2 separate regions of the Homo sapiens genome follow, and region 1 is linked to region 2. The links are contacts of gene promoters, found by promoter capture Hi-C in blood cells and fetal thymus (Javierre and others, 2016). All regions are on one chromosome and are shown on one strand. Each heading gives the region's core, a stretch centred on a gene start or on the middle of the fragment in contact. The rest is flanking DNA. Distances are from core to core; before and after follow the strand shown.

Region 1 (7,105 bases), core at 773-3,272, 380 kb before region 2:
GCTAAAACTGCCAGTTAAATGCGGTCAAACCTATCATGCTGTCTTGTGCCCTGTCTCACAAGGGTAGTGCTTTTGTGCTATAAATTCTGTTATTGCTGGAATGCACTCTTTTCTCCACACCACCTTGGTATGGGTCTTTGTGGCCTGAGATAAGAGGAGACATGCATTGCCCGAGGATAGCTCTTATCTTGTGCTACTCAACTTTCTCTTCCCTTAGGATGAGTTCTTTACAGGAAATTCCTCAGTCCCTCATGCAATGGAGCCCAGATAAGATGGCTTTAGAAGCCATCCAGACACACCTGAATCCTAGGGTGACTGTGGCCCAGGCCCAACTGGGATCCACCACCAATACCTTGTATTATAGATGATCCACATTCTGAAGCACAAAGATGGCACAAGATGAAACAATAGATTGTTATCCCCATGGGGTTTATCCTTATTATTTGACCTCGCTACACTTCTTTTGACTGATCGACAGCCTTTTCAGACAAACAACCTGATATTAAGGTAAATATTTTATTCTTTAAATAGAAATAACAAATGCATTTTTGTTATAGATTACTAAATATTGAACTGTATGACTTTACAATATTTCACTACTGTTTTTAGCTTGCAAAAAAATTAAAAATTAAACAATGAGGACATAAGCCATTTAATAGTTTATTTTATTTGTCTTAAGATAATAATGATTCCTTCTACTGAGAAGAAACTTTTACACTATATTTAATGATACTACTTTTTAAGAAGTAAATGACCCCCCCTTTTTTAATCTCTAATGTAAGGTTTCCTGCTCTATTGAAACAAAAAGTTTTCTCAAGTTTGAAAGAAAACAGAGGAGTGTGTTTGGTAAGAATTTACCTTACCATAACATGATGTTCCAGAATAAGATAAATCAGTTTATCTCAGTTTAAACTCCAGTGTCAGCATTTCCCTCTGGCATATAAATGCAAAAATACATTTTCAGGTAAAATAAAAACGTTGGGGAAAAATATTCTGTGCTTTTTAAAATTACTTTGTACTTGATAGTGACCTCATGTGGTAATAACAGAAAATAAAAACTGAACAATTCATTTCCAGAACATTTTTATTTTTAAAGAATTCCCAATAAAGACAAATGTGTAGTTCAGCCAAGTAATGTTTTTTAGGCTTGCTTCAGCAATACTGCAGGTTCAGTTACAGACAACCACAATAAAGCAAATACCACAAAACAAGTCGCACAAATATTTTGGCTTCCCAATGCACATAAAAGATATGCTTGGCTGGGCGCGGTGGCTCACACCTGTAATCCCAGCACTTTGGGAGGCCGAGGCAGGCAGATCACGAGGTCAGGAGATTGAGAACATCCTGGCTAACACGGAGAAACCCCGTCTCTACTAAAAATACAAAAAATTAGCCGGGCGTGGTGGCGGGCGCCTGTAGTCCCCGCTACTCAGGAGGCTGAGGCAGGACAATGGCGTGAACCCGGGAGGCGGAGCTTGCAGTGAGCCGAGATCGCGCCACTGCACTCCAGCCTGGGCGACAGAGCGAGACTAAAAAAAAAAAACAAAAAAAAGATATACTATACTGTAGTCATAGTATAAACAATACTTGGCAATAGCATAGCAACAGCATTATGTCTTAAAAATGTGGATACCTTAATTTTAAAATACCTTATTGATAAAAACCGCTAACAGTCATCTGAGCTTTTAGAAAGTCATAATCTTTTTGCTGGTGGAGAGAGGGTCTTGCTTCGACATTGATGGCTGCTGACTCATCAGGCTGGTATTGCTGAAGGTTGGGGTGGCTGTGGCAATTTATTCAAATAAGAAAACAATGAAGTTTGCCACATCGATTGACTTCCTTTCATAAAAGATTTCTCTATAGCATGTAATGCTGTTTGGTAGCATTTTACCCACAGTAGAGCTTCTTTCAAAATAGGAGTCAATCCTCTCAAACCCTGCTGCTGCTTTATCAACTAAGTTTATGTAATCTAAATCCTTTGTTGTCATTTCAACAATGTTCACAGCATCTTCACCAGGAATAGATTCCATCTCAAGAAACCACTTTCTTTGCTCATCTATAAGAAGCAAGCCCCTATTCTTTAGAGTTTTATTATGAAATCGGAGCAATCAGTCCTATCCTCAGGCTCCACTTCTAATTCTAGTTCTATTACCATTTCCACCACATCTGCAGTTAGTTCCTCCACTGAAGTCTTGAACTCCTCAAAATCATCCAGGAGGGTTGGAATCAACTTTTTCTAAATTCCTGTTAATGTTGATATTTTGACCTCCTTCGATGAATCACAAATGTTCTTAATGACTAGAATGGTGAATTCTTTCCAGAAGGTTTTTCATTTGCTTTGCCTAGATCTATCAGAGGAATCACTATGGCGGCGATAGCTTTATGAAATGGGTTTCTTTTTTTTTTTTTTTTGAGACGGAGTCTCACTCTGTAGCCCAGTCTGGAGTGCAGCAACGCGATCAAGACTCACTGCAAGCTCTGCCTCCCAGGTTCACGCCATTCTCCTGCCTCAGCCTCCCAAGTAGCTGGGACTACAGGCACCCACCACCACACCTGGCTAATTTTTCGTATTTTTAGTAGAGACGGGTTTTCACCGTGTTAGCCAGGATGGTCTCGATCTCCTAACCTCGTGATCCACCCACTTCAGCCTCCCAAAGTGCTGGGATTACAGGCGTGAGCCACCGCGCCTGGCCTCTGAAATGTATTTCTTAAATAATACTTGTGAGTTGAAATTACTTCTTGATCCATGGGCTGCAGAATGGATGCTGTGTTAGCAGGCATGAAAACAATACTAATTTCCTCGTGCATCTTCATCAAAGCTCTCGGATGACCAGGAGCATTGTCAATGAGCAGTAGAACTTTAAAAGGAATCTTTTTTTTCTTTGAGCAGTAGGGCTCGACAGTGGGCTTAAAACACCCAGTAAGACATGCTATAAACAGATGTGCTGTCATCTAGGCTTTGTTGTTCCATTTATAGTTCACAGGCAGAGTAGATTTAGCATAATTCTTAAGGGCTCTAGGATTTACAGAATGGTAAATAAGCATTCGTATCTGTTTAAAGTTACCAGTTAGTATTAGCCCTTAACAGCAGAGTCAGCCTGTCCTTGAATCTTTGAAATCAGGCATTGACTTCTCTCTGGCTCTGAAAGTCCTAGATAGCATCTTCTTCCAATATAAGGCTGTTTTGTCTATACTGAAAACCTGCTGTTTAGTGTAGCCACCTCCATCAATTATCTTAGCTAGATCTTCTGAATAAATTACTGCAGTTTCTACATCAGCCATTTGCTGCTTCACCTTGAACTTTTATGTTATGGAGATAACTTCTTTCCCTACACCTCATGAACCAACATCTGTGAGCTTCAAACTTTTCTTACACAGCTTCCTTACCTCTCTCAGTCTCCACAGAATTGAAGAGAGTTAGGACCTTGCTCTGGATTAGGGTTTGGCTTAAGGGAATGTTGTGGCTTGTTTGATCTTCTATCCAGACCACTCAGACTTTTTACATTTCAGCAACAGGTTGTTTTGCTTTCTTATTCACATGTTCACTGGAGTAACACTTTTAATTTCCTTTGAGAACATTTCCTTTGCCTACACAACTTGGCTAACTTTCAAAAGAGGCCCAGCTTTTGACCAGTCTCAGCTTTCGACATGCCTTCCTCATTAAGTTTAACTAACCATTTCTTAGCTTTTTATTTAATGTGACAGATGTGTGAATCTTCCTTTCACTTAAACACTTAGAGGCCACTGGCGGGTTATTAACTGGCCTAATTTCAATATTGTTTTCTCTGTGGGAAATAGGGAGGCCTGAGGAGAGGGACAAAGATATGGGAATAGCAGGTCAGTGGAACAGTCAGTATACACACTATAGTCATCAATTAAGAATTAATTAAGTCTTATATGGGCATGGTTCATGGCCTCCTAAAACAATTGCAAGAGTAACATCGAAGGTCACTGATCACAGATCACCTTAAAATATATAATAATGATGAAAATTGTGAAATATTATGGGAACTACCAAAATGTGACACAGAGACACAGAGTGAGCACACGCTATTGGAAAAATGGTGCCAGTCGACTTCCTTGACACAGGATCGCCACAAGCCTTCAATTTGTAACAAACGCAGTATCTGCGAAAAACTAAATAAAGGGAAGTGCAGTAAAATGAGGTGTCCCTGTATGAGTTGGTCTGGCTAAGCCACAGAAATGTAGTCTGGATTGCCATCTCCCAACAAATCTAGTAGCCATCCCTGGGGTGTAGCAATCAACCCAAATCCACGTGGTCTGTTGAGGTCAGGAACCTGGGGACACTGGATGGAATAGGAGAGGCTTCAATAAGAGACTGTATTAGTTCCCAGACTTAGTCTGAACAGTGGTGGGAAAAGAAGCCAGAACTAAAAGGCATTTGCAGAATGCTTATGACAACATGTTTAAATATAAATATGGAAGGTTTTATGTGAATATGTCATGAAATAACTATGGTTCACAGGTCCTATTCCTTGCTAAACAGTGAGGATCGAGGAAAACAATCTGGACTTTGAGTGGTTGTTTACCACTTGTAGGGTTGTTCTAACATGGTGTTTCAGCGCAGGGCTTTAGTTCTGTTCCTCCAACCATGCCCTTATTGCCAAGTATTTTTCCCCATTTCCCTTTCCAACATGTTTTACCAGTTCCAAGAGGATTTGCATTTAGTGAGGAAGGGGGAAGATCCTAAATCATTGCAGAATTTAATTTTTGTACACTTTTCAAATAACACTGTATTGATTATCTTAATGGTCATTCTGCATTCCTATTCCTATTTCTCCTCTCAAAGATCTCACTCCAAGCAACTGATCTGCTTCATCGTTAGTAAGAGGTCTTTGGATATATAAGGATGTTTGCTAGTCCTTGCCAGGTAGATGTGAGACCTGAAGCATACCTGCTCATTGCATGCCCTGCCACACTCTTGGTTTCCTACTTTTGACACAGTAGGACTTGTTAGGATACAAAACTGTGGGGAGTTGGCATTTTATATGCATGTTAATTTTTGCCAGGGAACTCTTTTCTGCCAGTAGATTTTTATCTTCTTATCAATATTGCCAACCTCCCCCAGTCACAGAATAGCAGGAGGTGAATTCACATTCTGGCTAGGAAATTTCTGGTATCTCAACCATGATTAGAAATTGTCAAAAACTCCTGAATGAATGCATAGAAACCATAAAACCAAGTAAGCAAAGACATCTGTAAACTAAATTTCTGGTTTAAAAGACTTAATTGGATTTTTTTATTTAGTGCAAATTTTGAAGGAGAAAAGTACATAAGGTTGTGTAGTCTCAAAAGATGAACCCAAGACTTTTGGTAGTTGGATTTGCTCTTTAAAGTTTCTCTAAAATGTCACAAACCTACAGTTACTTAATTGAGGTCTTTTGAAAAAAATATTATTTAATGTATTTGCTCTTGTTTCTTTTTAGGTCAGTCTTGATTCTCGAGTTAGAGAGGTGATCAATAGAAATCTGTTGGATCCCAATCCTCACATGTATGAAGATGCCCAACTTCAGATATATACTTTAATGCACAGAGATTCTTTTCCAAGGTTTTTGAACTCTCAAATTTATAAGTCATTTGTTGAAAGTACTGCTGGCTCTTCTTCTGAATCTTAATGTTCATTTAAAAACAATCATTTTGGAGGGCTGAGATGGGAAATAAAAGTAGTTAAATAACATCAGAAACTGAGTTCCTGGAGAACTACAGTTTAGCATTCCTCAGGCTACTGTGAAAACACAACCGTTATGGTCTTTGTCTCCATTTTTATCAAGGTTTTCCATGGTTAAGTTTGGAGAAAATACCACACAAAACAATGAATTGCCAAATTGTTTGTTTTATTCAAGACTCATTCTACTTGCAAGCAAAGTGTATTTGTAGTCCTATGAACAGTCTCCTCGTGTATCTCCAGAGACTGCATGTGCAAAGTAAAATGCTTCATTTGCCACATAGTTGTTGTAATATTTAATCCAGTAGCATAACTTATATCTGTATTTAAGGACTTTTGTGCAATATGGTCTTAAGAAATAATTGCCAAAAAAATCGGCCATGGTTTGCATTTTTTAACATAATCTAAGACAGAAAAAAAGCAATTTTTACTATGTAACAATGGTATTCAACATTCTATATACTGTGTTTAGTACACTAATTTTGAAGCCAATATTTCTGTACATGAAAAAGAGCTATTTATCTCTGTTTGTTGGAAAATCCTAATGGGGATTCCTCTGGTTGTTCACTGCCAAAACTGTGGCATTTTCATTACAGGAGAGTTTACTATGCTAAAAGCAAAAAACAAAAAAAAAAAAAAAGGGAAGAAGGAAAAAAGCACAAAACAATTTGAAGATATCCTATCTCAATGACAAATCAAAAGAGTGATATTGCTTTTAACTGTAATAGAAGAAAATGAATTTATGTATATATCAGATGTCCAATACTGTAATTAATTTATTAAAGACTGGCTCTCCAGTTTTAAAATGGTTGTGTAAAGTTATGTACTTCAGCAAGAAAAAAATAATAATAAGCTTGATAACTTAGTTTTGGAATATAAAGAAAAGGACTTAATAAAGGAATGCCTACATGTAGCACTGTAAAACATTTTGATGAATAGCATCTGTCCTGTGGCATATTTTCCTTGAAAGTGAAATCCAATGAAAAGCTAAGTTTTTACCAGGAAAAGTTTTATAAGGGTTATGAAGAAAATAATCCTCTACTTCAGACCTTAACTGTTTTCACATAATATCTTAAGGATGACATTTTAAAGATGTTTAAACCAAACTATTAGTTTTCATCCATCATTAAAAGGCAGTACAGTGCTCAAATCTTCCAGCTGCCATATTATTTTTTATAAGTACACTAAATCTTTACGACAAAACACTTGCCTGACATTGTCATGTACTTCTGACCTTCAAGGAAACAATATTCTGTCATGCATAAAAGTGATAATTAAAATAATCAGTGTCATATTTATATCAAAGTGTTACATTTGAATATTAATATCCCCTGAAGACTATTTTTTTAATATTAAACTGAATGAATATAATACTGAGTAACCTAAAATGAAAGTTTTAAAAAGATTTATATCCACTGA
Region 2 (7,212 bases), core at 669-3,168:
GAAGGCAAGAGCCCGGTCAGAGTTTGCTTACCACGGTAGCCCCAGCACTTAGGACAATATTTGTTATGTGGTAAGTGTTCAAGCAATAGCTGTTGAGTAAATGGAGCTACAACACCCTTCCCTGGGGTGTGTGAAACTGACAAGCCCTTTGCAAAACTCTAAAATGTGCTTAGTCCTTCTACAGAGGATAAAGTTTAGCTGAGAATGGGATTTCAGCTGTATAGGGAATCAATGCCAGCAAGACAGCTCTATGCTTCTGTCTGTCTCAGCCTGTGAGAACAGAGATTAGGCCTAGTAGAGGAGTTTTAGTTGGTGGAAGCAATGTTTCAGGCTTGTGTTTTAAGTGGCTCACTTCTCAAGTAAGTAAACCCAAGAAAGTAGTTGCTTAACGTGTAGAATAGCAAGTTGGTGGCCAGGTGCAGTGGCTCACACCTGTAATCCCAGCACTTTGGGAGGCCGAGCTGGATGGGTCACCTGAGGTCGGAAGTTTGAGACCAGCCTGACCAACATGAAGGAACCCTGTCTCTACTAAAAATACAAAATTAGCCAGGTGTGGTGACGCATCCCTGTAATCTCAGCTACTCAGGAGGCTGAGGCAGGATAATTGCTTGAACCTGGGAGGCGGAGGTTGCAGTGAGCCGAGATTGCACCATTGCACCCCAGCCTGGGGAACAAGAGCGAAACTCCATCTCAAACAAACAAACAAACAAAAAGAATGGCAAAGTTGGCACAATAACTTTCTACCCATCTTCAAAAGCCGGCAGGGTGGATTGATTCTATGAAGGTAGGGATTGAGAGGGTGAGCTGAGCCATTCTGATCTGTTTCTTCTGAGTGGCAAGCCTGGAAATCTGGACCCCATTTTGTGGCCACTGGGCACAGAGGGCTGACCTGGAATAATTATGCTCTGGTGGTTGTCTCCACAAGGGGCTCTGGGGGTGCCCCAGGATTGTTGCCCTCAGGCAGAGGCAGGGCATACATTGAGAGTGATCCCAAACACTCCTCCTCCAGGCCCAACTTTTGGAGGTAGCAAGTTCTGCAAATAGAGATCCATTGTTTGGTTTCTCTCTCTAAAAAAAAACAAAAGTCAGCACAAAGAAGAGGAACACATCAGATTGGTTTACCAGATTTGTTTCAGATGTTATTATTTTGACACGATCCAGAAGAAGGAGAATTTGAAGAAAATGGAAAGCTAGGCAGTGGGAATGTTGGCAGCAGGTAAGGGAAAGGCAGGCAGCAAAGAGAAACTTCATCTACTTTATAAACTGCTCCTTCCTTTCAGCAAATTTAGAGGATAAATGACTGTTTTGTTCAGATTGGAGATTCAAGGGGGGGATTATTACTTTTAAGATTATTGCAACATGGCTTCGATTATTTTAGCTGCAATCATCCTGTTGGACTTGGACTTCACTGTTGGTGAAGAGAGACTGTGTTTGACTTTGCCTGGATACCATAAAACCACAACAAAATAAATTCTCCTGAATGCTACCAGGCAACACCAAGATCTCTTACACCACGAGAAGGACTTGTGGCCAAAGATACAAATGGCTCCGCAATGTACAGGGTGCATACAGTGCACCTGAAGAACCTAAAAGTGGTTTTTAGAATCATCATAATAAACAGTCAAGAATTAAAGATGTCAAGCGCTTTCTCAAGAAGTCTAAACTTTATACATAACATTAAAAAAGATCTATAAAGCCTGACCAGTCTCCCTCAAATTAAGTTATTTGCTACTGACTTGGCAGCCAAAACGATTTAGGATCTTTCGGAAGTTGATGAAAAAGGAGCCAGCGGGTTTTGCTCTTTGCTCTGCATCACGCCCTTCCTGGGACCATCAGGGAACCTCCCAGCCTTTCAGGATAGGTTCCGCTCAGAAAGGTCACCCGGGCAGTGGAAACCGTGGGCAAAAGTTAGCTGGCAGGACAGCGCAGCTCCTCCAGGCAGCGGAGGCAGCGCGTCCCGGCTCTCAGGGACATTTCCTTCCCACCTCGACCCCCGGGAGGTGGTCCCGGTATAAAGGCTCGCTGAGCGGGTGGGTCACAGCACAGCTTTGCAGCTGCGGAGAAACGCCCAAGGCCGTGCATCTCCAGGAGGTAGGGAAGCCTGCGAGCCTCCGGGTCCCCGCCCCCAGCTCTTCCAGGCACCGGCGCATCCCGGAGCCGGGCGCGGGGCGCGGGGCACGGAGCCGGGGAGGGGGTGTGGCGGGCCAGGGCGGTGCAGGGACCCTGCCCAGAGGCTGAACCGGCCTGGGCGACCTTCCTTCCCGACAGGAGCAGTAGATGCGTGGGGGAGGGCGAAGGGGGAGGCCTCACCCCCCAGCGAGCAGCCGGGAGGAGGAACCGGTCGCGGAGGGCGGGGAGCGCGGCTGAGCAGCCCGGCGCGGGAGTGAGTGTGGGCGAGCCAGCCAGGGTGAGCGCGGGCGCCGGGCCGCGGCCGCCGGCCGCAGCGGGCTGAGATTGTTGTCCTCTGTCACCAGGGCGGCTGGGCTCCCGCAGTCCTGCAGACCGCGCCCGATCCCGGCGACAGGGCGGGCGGACAGCCGCGCATCCCCGGGGTCCCGCCGAGCCTGGGCGCAGAGAGCCGGGAGGAAGCGTTCGCTCGCTTCGCCTTGCTGCTGGGAAACTGAACGAGGCCGAGAGAGAAGGTAAAAGGAAAGACAGAGACTGGGAGACAGGGAGAGACAGAGACAGGGAGAGGAGAGAGAGGTGCAAGACGAACACATTGCAGACAAATTGTCAGCAAGTTTGTGCCTGCACGCTGGGGCTCTGCGTGCTTGATGGGAGGGGGTGGTGGCAGTGATGTGTGTACGTGTGCGATACTCATAGATAAGGAGACTAGGAGGTTGGGGAGCCTCTTTGCATCTCGTACGTAGATGTCCCTATTAATATCCCCCTCTCTGAGTTGTCATTTCCGCTTGTGGCACATCTCCTGGGCTCCAATGGTGCAGAAGCAAAAGGCAGCCAGCCTCTTATTGTGATGGTCGGTACTGTTGCTACTATCAGATGGGAGAGGTAGGGCGTTGAACAGATTCTAGGAGCCTCCCTTCCTCCACCCCCTGACTATTTTAGGAAGGGCTGGGGGAGGGAAATGGCTTGAAGGCTGCGCGGAGGCCCTGGCGCGTCAGACTCCAGCGGCGCTGTCATGGTGCAGTTGCTTCCCGGCAGAGCCTGCACTAGAGGGCAAGAGAACTTTCGTCTCCTCTTTATAAAGATACGTTTCACATAGAGAGATCTTGCATTGCTGGCGGAGGAGTTCTGGGAAATGGTGGTGCACAGGCGGCCAGGTGCATCCCAACGGGCAGGCATCCGTGCAAAACGAAGCAGCCATCAGCCGCACAGGAAGAAGCCCCTTGGGAAGGCAGGCTGGGTGTGCTGACTGGGATCCCAGACTTTGGATGCTGGAAGTTCTGCCCCCTTCCGTAAATAGAGTCAGGTCCAGCCCAGAGGGAAATATCAGCAATGAAGCCTTAGCATCCCACAATGTTCATTTCTGAGCTTTTCGTTTTGGGGTGGAAAACTTGTATCTGAAATGTTCCTGTGAATGTTAAGAAAGTTAAAAATGAATTATTTTTCTCTTCTTTAATGCCCATCCATTTTTTGTCTTCATCTGAGAATGACTTTCCTAAAGACAACATTCGTATACAGAAGCCAGACCTATGCAAGAGAAAGTATAATAATTTTCAATGAGGCAAAGGTCATTAATATGACCTACATCTTCATAAAATGCGAATTTAATCACGAGTCATGACGATTGTTCTTTGAGAGGCTTTTTATTCCCCATGGTGAAAAAAGATTTGTAGTATGGCTAAAAAGTTCCTGATATCACCGGAACAGTGTGACAAAATACATATCTATTTTTTCTTTTCTGTTCATTACTTTGTGGCAGATTTAGAACAAAATGTGAGAGATCTATACTAACTTAATATGTTTCATGCTGAAGATTAAGAAACAGCTTCAGACTGACCCAGATAACAATATTTGCTAGGCTTTGGAAATATTTGCCTAGCTCTTATTTTATAGTCTCACTTTCATCTTTCTGAACTAATGATTTTCACAAACTGGTTTTCTTCTGTCCTCATTGACCTCATTTAAGAACTCTTTTTTACTTGAGTCCTTCCTGCCAGGGAGAGGAGATTGGAAAAAGCTAGTTTGCCATTTAAAAATGTTCAAGAATTGTTTGGTGCTGCACTGGGCCTACTTTCTGATAACTATGCTGCACACACAGCATCTTGGAAATGAAAGGAGGTGTGACTGTCACAGGATGTAGGAAGCCCATAACTGGGCAAGGTTGGTGGCATTTTCACAACTCCAGCTCTAGCTACTGCAGCCACACCCTGTGGTCTGAATGTGACAGGCATGCAGGGCCCAAACGCCTCTGCGAGGTCCTCTGTGTGTCTCCTCTTAAATGTGTACTTCTTTGTGGTCTAATCTAACGAGAACTAATGTTTGGCAAGGTGTGCAATATACTGTAGCAAGGGAAAAAAAGAAGGTTGCAGATGTCTTTGGTTGTAATTTATACTTTAGGCTTACAATAAACAAAATTTAATTATGACACTGAACATCTTTCATGCTGATTTCTGCTATACACTTTGTCTTTTGCTTACTTGTTCATGTTCTTCTATGGAAAAGATCATTTCTTATTGTTACTCTGTATAATTCATACTAGTGAATAAGAAACAGCATTGTTCCCTGATAACCTGCACACATTTATTAGTAATATACTTACATTAATTCAAAGATATCCCTGTTCTTCTCTTTTAGCCATCTTAGTATTCATTAATTAGTACCATTATTAATGGGTGAATAGAGAAAAAAATAATTAAATTTAAAATTAAACAGTATGTGAACTCTCTTCAGCAAAAGACTTGAATAGAAGGGAAACTGAAATTTATTCATGACTAAAAATTTTATTCAATAGTGGGTTTCAATATTAGTGCTATTCTTATACATGTTTAGACATTTAATTAATATCTGTACTTCCTGCTGTTGTGAATCTGTTTATGTGTTTATGTTCTCAGTTCATTTTCTTTTTGGTTAGAAATGAGCCACGTTGTCTCTGGTCATTGCAGGGTTTGAAATTTTCTGCAGTAGTTTCCTAATACCTAGAAATTCAGTTGCATTGCTTATATATATTCTTGTGGCTCAGTAGTATTTCTTCAGTGCTTTTCTTAGTGTATTCCTTTTTAGTCACACAAACAAGAAACTGCTTTAAGAGCCAATGTCCATTCTGCCAAGAGACAGAAAAAATTGAGTTGTGCTATTTCACAACTGTGTTTTTTCACAGGGAGTGATGTTAAGAAGAGTATGCCTTTCAACTGGGAGCATCCCAAATAGCAGGTAGTCCAAATTCCTAAGAAGAGTATGCCTTTCAACTGGGAGCATCCCAAATAGCAGGTAGTCCAAATTCCTAAGAAGAGTATGCCTTTCAACTGGGAGCATCCCAAATAGCAGGTAGTCCAAATTCCTAAGAAGAGTATGCCTTTCAACTGGGAGCATCCCAAATAGCAGGTAGTCCAAATTCCTAAGAAGAGTATGCCTTTCAACTGGGAGCATCCCAAATAGCAGGTAGTCCAAATTCCTAAGAAGAGTATGCCTTTCAACTGGGAGCATCCCAAATAGCAGGTAGTCCAAATTCCTAAGAAGAGTATGCCTTTCAACTGGGAGCATCCCAAATAGCAGATAGTCCAAATTCTCTCTGTGTCCTGAACAAAAAAAAAATGCAGCAGATGGTTATTGATTGGGTGGGTGTTTTGTTTGCTTCCATAGTAGCCTGGACTTTTCCATTACAATACTTGCCCTCCTTTGTTGTAACATTGTTTATATCATCTTCCTCTACCGGCACATAAGCTGTAAGAGGGGCTTGTCTCTCTTGTTGACTGCTGTTTACTCAGTACCATGGTCCCTTACAAATAGCTACTCAATACATATTTATTGTGAAATAATAAATACAGGAATCTTACCTTTCTGAATGTATTTAGCTGCATCATAATCTTAGTTCCTTCCCCTGGAAAAATTTGGAGATGGTGCAGGGACTATTTATTGGTATACAGCCCATGAATGTCCATCAAATTCTCCAATTCCATCCCAATGCCTAGCTTCACTCTTCATTCCCTCTCCTTCGTGCTCCCGCAGTATCCTGCACCTATTAAAAACTGTTTTAATAATCTTGGGAATAGTGAGTTTATTGATGTTCTGGATCTGCCTCTGGTGTTCTGGTTCTGTCATGTCCATAGCCAGAACACTGCTAGGTAAACAGTCTGTTGGAGGATCTCATGACCTTGCACCAGTCGTTGTTTTAGCTCTGCCTTGTGCTGCTATTGGTTTTGGAACAGAAGAGCACACTTGGGAGTACCTCTGCATTTTAGGGCCGTCTCTCATATTGCAGCTGGAGAAACTGGGAACAGGGGAAGGAAAATGGAAACTAGTATTTGCTGAAACTCTGCTACATGCCAATCAATCTGCTGGAAACATGACATATTTATCTTTTAAAAAAATTAATTTAAGCAGGATAAAATTAAACCTAATTTGGCATAAGTATACCTCATTTTACAGATGATGAAAGAAGGGCTCAGAAAAGCTCATTTTTCTTAAGCCTGCGTGCACAGTAAGAGATAGAATTAAGATTCAGCTCCAGGTCTTTCTTAGATCAAAGTCTGTGCATTTCCTGGTACCACACTCTCCTCCAATAGGTAGTTGTTGAGGACCTTCATGCATAGAACCAGCTCAAAATCACCCAACTAGCTGGGATAAAGTTTAGCCTAGAACTGATATTTCCTAATTCCCAGTCTCCTTTTATTACCTTCTTTTTATTAACATCATTTAAATTTCTTATTAAATCATGTAATTAGATAAAGTATCAGTAAAAAGCAAGAAAATCATGATTTCACAAAATAGGAAATATGTGTACATGTGAATGATGAAAGCAAAATGTTTAATGTCTGAAAAAGGAAGGATATTGCATCCACTTTTTTTTGCATTGAAGAGGAAGAGGTTTTCTGGGGATTTTCTCATAAATGTAAAGTATTATGAACTTGATTCAATGAAACAAAAAATATATATCGGGGGCCTAGGATGTGGTCAGGGATATACTTGGTGTCAATGAATGAGATTTTGCAATGTTATAGCCTCTATACCAGTGAAATGTTCACTGTTTCTTTAGAGTGAGGTAAGACTAGCAGTAGTGAAAGATAGAAGCCAAATTGTACCTAGGATAGT

Evidence for each region. The method cuts DNA at HindIII sites, captures the fragments that hold promoters and counts their contacts. A CHiCAGO score of 5 or more calls a contact.
Region 1: a contact is called between a fragment that was not itself captured here and the fragment with the promoter of SYNE1 in region 2, in 1 of 17 cell types (neutrophils). The highest score is 5.5, in neutrophils.

Annotation. Positions count from the first base shown.
Region 1 is chr6:153,010,105-153,017,209 of GRCh38, reverse strand. RGS17 (regulator of G protein signaling 17) reads left to right here. Exons shown (of 5, transcript NM_012419.5): 5 at 5,448-7,105. The coding sequence ends at 5,636. Among named protein-coding and RNA genes, the nearest start is that of MTRF1L, 11 kb to the right of the region's middle. RefSeq lists a silencer at 1,254-1,436. The HindIII fragment of the contact is 9,038 bases long and covers 1-6,541 here.
Region 2 is chr6:152,632,068-152,639,279 of GRCh38, reverse strand. SYNE1 (spectrin repeat containing nuclear envelope protein 1) reads left to right here and starts at 1,918. Exons shown (of 146, transcript NM_182961.4): 1 at 1,918-2,091; 2 at 2,475-2,642. RefSeq lists an enhancer at 4,291-4,420. The HindIII fragment of the contact is 16,108 bases long and covers 1-7,212 here.